2 separate regions of the Homo sapiens genome follow, and region 2 is linked to region 1. The links are contacts of gene promoters, found by promoter capture Hi-C in blood cells and fetal thymus (Javierre and others, 2016). All regions are on one chromosome and are shown on one strand. Each heading gives the region's core, a stretch centred on a gene start or on the middle of the fragment in contact. The rest is flanking DNA. Distances are from core to core; before and after follow the strand shown.

Region 1 (5,177 bases), core at 1,683-4,182:
AAAATGTTCTAGCACTTCAAGCATCATGTCTGAGTTCAAGACAGGAAAAAGAGAAAAGGGAGCAATGCCAGTGACAGTTTAAAGGCTAACTTCCTTATTATGTCATTTAATGTAGCCCTGTACTTTCTTATAGTAATATACCCTTGAAAATGTATGGAATGCCTTTCAGGCACAATACATACATATATGTTGATGATGGCAATTCCTCATGTTGGAAGTGGGACCTTGTGTGAGGTATTGGATCGGAGTGGATCCTTCATGAATGGCTGGATGCCATCCTCCCTATAATGAGTGAGTTCTTGCTCTGAGTTCACATGTGATATCTGGTTGTTTAAAAGAGTGTGGAACTCCCCACTTCTTTTGCTCCCACTCTCGCTGTGTACACACTGGCTCCCTGTGACCTTCCACCACAACTGAAAGCTTCCTGAGGCCTCACCAGAAGCAGATGTCAGCACTATGCTTCCTGTACAGCCTGCATAACTGTGAGCCAATTAAATCTCTTTTCTTTAGAGATTACCCAGTCTCAGGTACTACTTTGTAGCAACACAAGAATGGACTAACACACATGCGTCCACACACATACACATACATGTACACAAAAACCTAAACCTCAATTGGCTTCAGAAATGGCTAACTCAGTTATGGCGTAATATCACCTATGACTCTGGTTTTTTCAACTTCCTGCTTTGCTGTTTTCAATGTTGGATCTCTCCTCAGGCTGGTATGAAGATGGATATAGCAACTCTATGTATACCATCCAGATCCAACAGCTTCAAGAGGAAGAAGACCATCTGGCCCCTCAGTAGACACCACTCCCATCCCATTAGTCAGGATGCTTGTCAATTTGTTTCCTGAACTAACTACAAGGGAAATGGGATTACCTTCGCCTATTCCTCTCAAGGGTCAGCTTCCCTTAAGACATACAACTTTGTGAAAGGGCGACTGGGCAAGTCTATACTAAAGATCTGAAACTGTTATGTTGGACAGGCAACCACCATCTGTCTCTAATACATGTGTGCTAAAATCGTAGCATGAAAAAAACAAACAATAGATGTATATGTTACAATAGGGGTTCTCTTCCCTCTATATAATCTCTAGACATATTTTGTCTTAGAGATGTAAAATTCAACGATATATTTAAAGTATAATATCATTGTTCATTCAGTTGATTTACTGAACGCCTTCTATGTACCAGACACTACTCTTTAACTTAGTTCTTTTCCTTTATACTAAAACAGAGGTGACAGATATAGAACTATAAGTGTTTGATTGAAGCTAATGATTCACTTCTCTCTGCATACCTAATGACTTCCATCTTTGTCTTTATTTCATTGTTGGAGACATGTTTATTACTAGAATCAGCACTTTCATTTTTCTGTCTTTGACTCGTTTTTATAAATGAGTCGATATTCAAACAAATGTCCAAAGACACAGAGGTAGGCAAAGATGGCAACATGGTAGAAACTGAATGGTTGACTGATAAGAGTGTGATACAATAATACTAACCCTTATGCAGTACTTAATCTGTGCCAGGCACTGTTCTAGGCACTTCACAAATACTAACTCATTTATCTTCACAACTCTATGAGGGGAGTACTATTACCTCCATGTTGCACGTGGGGACACTCGGGGCCAATGACAGTTTGGCACATTGGTCAGCCGACTGAAAGCTGTGATTTGGCTCCTGCCTTCCTGACTCACTCTGCCCCCACCAGGCTTCACTCGGGCTAACTGCGGTTCTCAGAACTCCCTTGGAGGCCTTGTTCTCTCCAGCTCTGTGCTTTTGCGCATGCTGTCTTCCTGGACTGATCTTTTCCGCCTGGGCTCCGTCTTCTAGACCAGATCAGGCCCCTCTCCTTAGCAATGCCTTTTCTGGTTAAGGCAGTCAGGCCAGGCACACCTGTCTAGCACCCAGCCCTTCTCTCCTCACCCTATTTGCTTACAGATCTGTCTCCAACACCAGAGACTGTGGTTCTGGGCCTGGCTGTCTCCTCATTGTTGAGTCCCTGGGGCTTGCTACTATGTCTGGCCTATAATAGGCACTCAAAGTTTTGCTGAATTTATGCATAAGCTCTCCGAATTTTGCTTTCTTGTCTCCCCCATACTGTCTGACACCACATATTGTAGACACTTAGTCAATGGAAGTGGGAGTCTGATTTTCCTGCCAACAGCCTAACTTAATAAAAACAAAGCAAAACAAAAACCGCCCCCTTCCCCTTTCTCCCATCTCCACATCATAATTAAGATCCCGAAAATTTGGGATCCTTCCAAGCCCTCCGATCAGTGGAACCCGGCAGGACATGAGAAGTCAGACTCCCTCCACTGGCCGGCTGGGTTGAGGGCAGCCCACAGGACTCAGGGCGCCGCCTCCCGCACCCTCTCTCAGTTCTTGCCTATTAAGGTAAGAGTCCCCCGAGGAGGGGGGAGGGGCCGGAGGGAGGGTCCCCTAGAAGCTGCTTGTGTGCTTGCTCCGCGCCGCGGAGCCGCAGCCCTGGACACTCAGTCAGGTGCCCCGCGACTGGTCCTGCCAGCTTCGGGGCAACCTCCGACCCCACTTAGCTCTTCTACCCGAGGTCACCTTCCTAGATTTCCATAGCCACGAGACCAAGTGCTTATCCCTCAAGCATCGCCCGGGCCTCAAACCGGTCTCCGCACAGGGCGCTGATTAAATGGGTCCCCAGTCCCCGGTGGGCGCTCCCGCCCTGCAGGTGCTCCGATAGCCGGCGGCGGTGCGCCCACTGGAGGGAAGGAAGGTGGTCCCTGGGTCCGGGAGAAGAGCGAACGTGCTCCCTCGGGCTGCTCGATCTCCACCCGCTGGCGCCCCCACCCGTCGCCAGCCACGCCGCTTGGGGTCCACGCGCCCCTCCCCGCCGGGCCCCGCCCCGCCCCCCGGAGGCCCCGCCCCGGTCCTCCCCGCTCCGCCCCCTCCCCGCCGGAGCCTGCCGCTCCCCGCGCTCGTAGCGCGGGCCTGGGGACTGGGGATCCCGCCGCCGGGCCGCAGCATGGGGCGCTTCCGCGGGGGCCTGCGGTGCATCAAGTACCTGCTGCTTGGCTTCAACCTGCTCTTCTGGGTGAGACCAGGAGCCGGGAGGGCCGGTCAGGGCAGGGGGCCGGGTGGCGGGCGCGGGGCCGGGGTCCCCGAGCTGCTGACTGCGGCGTCCGAGTCGCGCTCGTGGGGAGGGCTGGGTGCTCAAACGCGGAGGCGAGGAGAAGGCAAACAAAGAGGGAGGGGAGGGATGGAAGGGAGAGAACGGGAAGACAGAAGGTTGATCAATGAGAAATGGTGAGAAGGGGAGAGACACCGTGTGGCTCTTTCCTGGAAGGAACCCCCACCTGCCTTGGTTTTTATCTCCCAGCTAGTGACCCCAGGTGCGGGGACCCAGCCTCTCCTCACCTCCGGAGGACTTGGGTCCCTGTTCCCCTCCAGTCTCCCGTGCACACACCCCCTTTTCACTCTGCCTACCAGCTGGAACCAGGGCCTGGCCAGGGTGATGGGAGAGAAACCCCTGCCCTGGGGCTGCCTGGGGTGGTGCTCCATTCGAGTGTGTGGACACTGTACCTGGCTGTGATGGTTTTGTTTAGGAAATTGGAGATAGGAGTGAAAATTGTGGTGGGGGGGCGTCGTCCTTTTTCTGGGCATCAGGGTAAGAGTACCCCTGGGTGAGAGGAGGTGGTGGGTTCTCTTCTGAGAAGGGGATGGGGAATGGAAGGGCTTCTAAAGGGCAGCAGCAGCTCTCCACAACCCCCAGCCGCAGCCTCTGCTAAATACTAATTCTCCCAGAGATGATCTCATTCAACTTTGCAGGGTTTGATTGAACTGACAGCGTTCCCAGGATTCATGGTTCACAGAGAGATAGGATCTTGACCCTTGTCTCCTATATTATCGAGACAGGGATACAGCTAGACCAGACCTACATCCCTGGATACCCTGTCCCAGGGCCTGCAGGACTGTGAGACAAGGTCTGAAAATTGTCTTTTCTGCACATTTCCTCTTGGGCTTTCTTAAGAGAATGTCAGCCAGTGTAACTGCTCAGCTAGACCCTGAGGGGAAACATTGGATAAAGAGGTTTGAGAGCAGCCAGGGCCTGGGTGCTTTGAAACTACCAGGTTGGAGGAGGTGGCTGTCCTATCTGCTCTGGGGGACGTTGTCTTCCCATGATTGCAACTAATTAATTATTGAATGATGGGCTCCTCTTTTGTCTGTCAATCCATTAGCCCAGATGCCTGGGTGACTTCAGCAACTCCAAGCTCTTCAGTATCCTTCAGCAGTGGAAGGTGTGAAGGAGGTACCTCCTCGACATCCCCTGAACTTTAAAGAGACACATGGCCTTTGTACACGTGGGGATTTACATCAAGCATACTATAGGGAGAGGCGTTTCTGAAGACCCTTTATGTTGTATTTTTTAGGAATCTGGCTTAATTTCAGAAGCTGTTAATTATAGATGTCACGCCACAGTGACAACCTTCATTCTCACTGCTTATGAATTCAAAGCCTTATGAAGTTTTAAGCCTGAGGAGGAATTCTTAAGCTGGGTTCAGTGCTTATTTAGTGGCTGATATTGTACCAGCCTTTCCAGTGATAGCTGGAAGGATTCATTGAATGTTTTCAATGTGTCAGGGACAGTGCTAAGCATATTACTTTCATTATTACACATAATCCTCACAAGAGTCCTGATATACATATACTATTATTATCCCCATTTTTTACAGATGAGGAAACAGGCTCAAATTGGTTAAGTCACCTAAGATCACACAGCTAGTGAGTGGCAGGGATGGTATTCAAACTCAGCCTACCTTCTCTTTTTTTTTTTTTTTTTTTGAGACGGAGTCTCACTCTGTAGCCCAGGCTGGAGTGCAGTGGCCCGATCTCCACTCACTGCAAGCTCCACCTCCCAGATGCACGCCATTCTCCTGCCTCAGCCGCCCAAATAGCTGGGACTACAAGCACCCTCCGCCACGTCTGGCTAGTTTTTTTGTATTTTTAGTACAGACGGGATTTTACCGTGTTAGCCAGGATGGTCTCCATCTTCTGACCTCATGATCTGCCTGCCTCAGCCTCCCAAAGTGCTGAGATTACAGGCGTGAGCCACCGCGCCTGGCCGCCTACCTTCTCTTAAGCACTGTGGTACATTCAATTAACCAGTGGTTCTCAAAAGTGGTTCCTGGGCCAGCAGCAT
Region 2 (4,457 bases), core at 1,417-3,916, 510 kb before region 1:
GTATAGATATAGTTTTCTTAGAGTTTATCCAGTTTAAGCTTTGTCTTTCATCAAATTTGTGAAGTTTTTGCCACACACATACACACACACATATACTCTACCCTCCCCTATCTTGTTTTCCTCTCTTTCTGCGACTCGCCACTCTGTTAGAACTTCCATGTCATTGGCTCACAGGTACTTGGGGCTCCATTCACTTTATAATATCTTTTCTTCTCTGTTTTTTCTTTTCTTTTTTGTTTTTGAGATGGGGTCTCCCTCTGTGACCCAGGCTGGAGTGCAGTAGCACAATCACAGCTTGCTGCAGCCTTGACCTCCTGGGATCAATCAAACCTCAGGCCTCAGACCCTGATTAACTGGGATTGCAGGCATGTGCCACCACAACCAGCTAATTTTTCTATTTTTTTGTAGAGAAAGGGTCTCAATTTGTTCCCTAGGCTGGTCTCAAACTTTAGTGATTAAGCAGTCCTCCTGCCTCAGCCTCCCAAAATGCTGGGATTACAGGCATGAGCCACAGTACCTGGCCTCTCTCTTTTCTTAAGATTGGATAATTTGTTTACTCATTCTTTCTTCTGACATCTCATTTTCCTATTACACCCATCCAGTGAATTTTTCTATTTTGGATATTGCTTTTGTTAATTCTAAAACAGTAGAACTGAGTAGTTGTGACTGAAGCCATATGGTTTGCAAAGCCTAAAATATTTACCATGTGCCTTTTTATAGGAAAACGTTGCCAATTCCTGCTCTAGGAGATGGGAAACTATTGAGGTGTTTTAAACAGTGAACCAACAAATATATCCCTTTGGCTAGTGTATCAAGCATGGATTTAAGAAGGGGCAAGAGAGAATCAGTAAAACCAGTTAGGAGGCAATCGAAATATCTATGAAATAATGGAGAAAGGCCTGAACTCAAATAGTAGGCGGGATAGAGAGGAGAAGACAGAGTTCTGTGAGGCAAAATCAGCATAAATCACTGAATAGCTATGGGGAAGTAAGGAAGAAGACAGACTCAAGGATAATTCCCTGCTTTCTAGTTTGGTGACTGGGAATATGATGGTTCCTAAAACAGCTAAATGAAAGCAAAAAAGTTATGATTGTTAATTTTATGTGTCAACCTGACTGCACCATGGGTTGCCCAGACAATTGGTCAAACATTACTGTCAGTACCAAAATCTGCATTTGTCAGAGTTCTGTGGGAGATTGTTTCTTTGTTTATTTATTATAGGAAATTAGCTCATGCAATTATGAAGACTGACAAATTCTAAGATCTGCAGTGAGCAAGCTGGAACTCAGGAGAGCTGATGGTGTAGTTCTAGTCCAAAGGCTGGCAGGCTTGAGACCCAGGAAGAGCCAATGTTTGAGTTAGAGTTTGAAGGTAGAAAACAAAAAAACAAAAACAGTGTTTCAGTACAAAAGCAGTCAGGCAGGAAGAAGTGGGGCAGTGGGTGCACGCTCATGGAACTCAATGGTCTCACCATGTTTTCTACCATCCTTAATCAGCTGGCTTGATAGAACAGTGGAATGGCCTTTTGAAGATTCAGTTGCAGTGCCAGCTAGGTGGCAATACCTTTCAGGGTTAGGGCAAGGTTTTCCACAAAGCTATATATGCTCTGAATCAGCATCTAGTACATGGTGCTCTTTTTCTCATAGCCAGGATTTATAGGTTCAGGAATCAAGGGATGAAAATGGGAGTGACACTACTCAGTACTACCCTTAATGACCCACTAGCAAAATGTTTGCTTCCTGTTCCTATGGCCTTATGCTCAGGTGGCTAAGAGATGTTTGTTCCAAAGGGAGGAATGCTTCACCAAGAGACACAACAATGGTTCTATTGAACTGGAAGTTAAGAATGACACTCAGACACGTTGCGCTCCTCCAAGTCAACAGCCCAAGAAGGAAGTTACAGTGTCAGCTGGGATGATCAATCTGGACACCAAGGGGAAATTGGACTACTGCTCCACAGTGAAGGTAAAGAGGAGTATTCTGGAATATAGTAGATCCCTTAGGATATCTCTTAGTATTATCATGCTCTGTGATGAAGGTCAATGGAAAAGCAAAACAACGCAATTCAGACAAGATTATTAATGGCTCAAACCCTTCAGACAAAAGGTTTATATCACCCCACCAGGTAAAGAACCACAAACAGCTGAGGTGCTTGCTGAAGATAAGGGAAATATGTAATGGGTAGTGGAAGAAGGTAACAAGATATGTATACGTGTGCATATGCGTGTGTGTGTGTGTGTGTGTGTGTGTGTGTGTGTTGAATATCTTTGTTTTCCTCCTCTTTTCCCCTTATCATGTAACATAAGATGTATTAACTTTATGTCATAGTATTTAAGTATTGCTAATTTTATATGATAGTATTTAAGTTTTGGTATGTCACAGAGAAGAGTGAACATAGCTCAAAGACATTGCTTCTTCCTCTGTGGAAGGGTTTATTGTGTTTTCTGTTGTACAAAGGACAGTTGTATCAGTGTAGGTGAAATTATGACCATGTTACCATCTTTGTTTGGAGATTAGCATGGTTCAAGTACATGCATATGCATGCCAAGTTGAGAAGGAGTAGACTTGTGCTGGTTAATTTTTTGTGTCAGCTTGACTTGGCCATGGGGTCAAGTTGGTCAAACATTATCTCTGGGACTGTCTGTGAAGGTGTTTTTGGAAGAGATTAACATTTGAATCAGTAGACTGAATAAAGCAAATTGCGCTCCCTAATTGTGAGTGGCCTTCATCCAATGAGTTGAAGGCCTGATTAGTACAAAATGTCTGCCCCTCCTTTAAGAGGGAAATCCTCCTGCCTGACTGCCTTGAGCCAGGACACAAACTTTCCCTGCCTTTATATTTGCACTGAAATATCAGTTCTTCTTGGGTCTCAAGCCTTCTGGCTTTTGGATGAGAACTCAACCATCAGCTCTCCTGGGTCTCCATCTTGTTGACTGCAGATCCTGGGACCCCTCAGCCTCCATCATTACATGAGCCCATTCTTTCTAATAAATCTCTTTCCAAATATATGTACATCCTGTTTGTCTGGAGAACCCTGACTAATACAAGGGTTATTTGGCGGTTTGGGATGATGTAAAGAGATTAAAAATTCAGAGCTGGCCATGATAATTCTGTGCGTCTGTTCTGGAGACAGAAAGCAACCAGTCAAAAAATAGCAGCTGAAACTCAAGAGACTTTGCCTAAAGATACAGATTTAGGAGTGTTCAGTACAGTTCTCAAAACTCAGTGAGTGCACATAATGATCTGTGCAAAGCAGACACTTAAGAGGCATGGTCCTTCAAGAGACTGGTTCTCAAAATGTAGTCCAGAGACTTGCCTTACAAATTCCTGAGATACTAGTTAGGAAAACACATTATTAGATTCCTCCCCAGACAAACTAAGTTAAAACCTCAGGGTCTGGAGCCCAGGAATTTTTGTGGGGGATCTCACCATGTCACCCAGGGTGGTCTTGAACTCCTGGGTTCAAACGATCCTCCTGTTTCGGCCTCCCAAAGTACTGAGATTACAGCCATGAGTCACTGCGCCCGGCCAGGAGTCCTCATTTTTGACAAGCATCCTAGGTGACCGTCACACACACCAAAGCCTGAGGAAGTGTGCACTGCAAGAAGGCAAACTGCTTTCCTGAGAGAGCTGTCTGACAGGGTGCAGGAGGGCCTCGATCACTAGGTGGCGCCAGACGCACATTTACAGTAATTTTCCAGTGCTGTGGCTTCCTCAGCCAGCATAGAAAAGGAAGCCTCATGGGGCTCCTGGGATTTCTGCCAGCACCTCCTCAAGGGGAGTGAAATACAGAGCTAGCAGGCTGACTAAACTGTAGTCACTGGCACTATCAGTCACCCCCACAATGGTCTGCCTGGAAGAGGCTCCAGTTATTGGCAGAGCGTAAATAAGGAGAATTCTCTGCAAAGCCACCCATTTTGAGCCACAGTGATCCAGCAGGCAGTCTTGGGAAGTAATGGTGTGGATTTCCCAAGACCGAGTCAGGGGCAGAGCTGTAAGAGGCCAGGGGTCCCCCCACATCCCAGACCACCACCGTTCCCAGTCAGGGTATCTTCAGAGAGGACAGAAGCAATCCCTTCTTCTGTCCTAGGAGACCTGATGGTGCTGCAATGGTGCCTAACACTGGCTCTGCCTGCCGCCTGTCTCCAGGCTCAAACAGTCTCCCAGCCTCTCACAGAACTAGAAGCTGACCCTTCCTCCACCCGCTGCTTTCCCCCTTGGCCCCCAGCGCCTCACACTTGAGCTGTTTCCACAGCAACGACTTGCATGCACCTCCGAGTCTCCATGACCTCCTACCAATCTGCACATATCCATGCTGGAGCTTCAAGCACTACTGTTGAGAAGTCGCACCCCTTGCCTGGCATTGAGGACCTGCATCTTCTGGCCCTTTGGTATCAGACTATTGGAGCTCCTTAGGCAGAGAAGTGCTGATGGAGGGGGACTGGGGAGTGAAGAGGA

What was found. The method cuts DNA at HindIII sites, captures the fragments that hold promoters and counts their contacts. A CHiCAGO score of 5 or more calls a contact.
Region 2: a fragment that was not itself captured here is called in contact with the fragment with the promoter of TSPAN2 in region 1 in 1 of 17 cell types (M0 macrophages); the score reaches 5.4 in M0 macrophages.

Annotation. Positions count from the first base shown.
Region 1 is chr1:115,087,258-115,092,434 of GRCh38, reverse strand. TSPAN2 (tetraspanin 2) reads left to right here and starts at 2,932. Exons shown (of 8, transcript NM_005725.6): 1 at 2,932-3,071. The coding sequence starts at 3,003. The HindIII fragment of the contact is 10,227 bases long and covers 423-5,177 here.
Region 2 is chr1:115,595,220-115,599,676 of GRCh38, reverse strand. No RefSeq gene overlaps it. Among named protein-coding and RNA genes, the nearest start is that of VANGL1, 45 kb to the left of the region's middle. RefSeq lists an enhancer at 3,515-3,809. The HindIII fragment of the contact is 5,252 bases long and covers 41-4,457 here.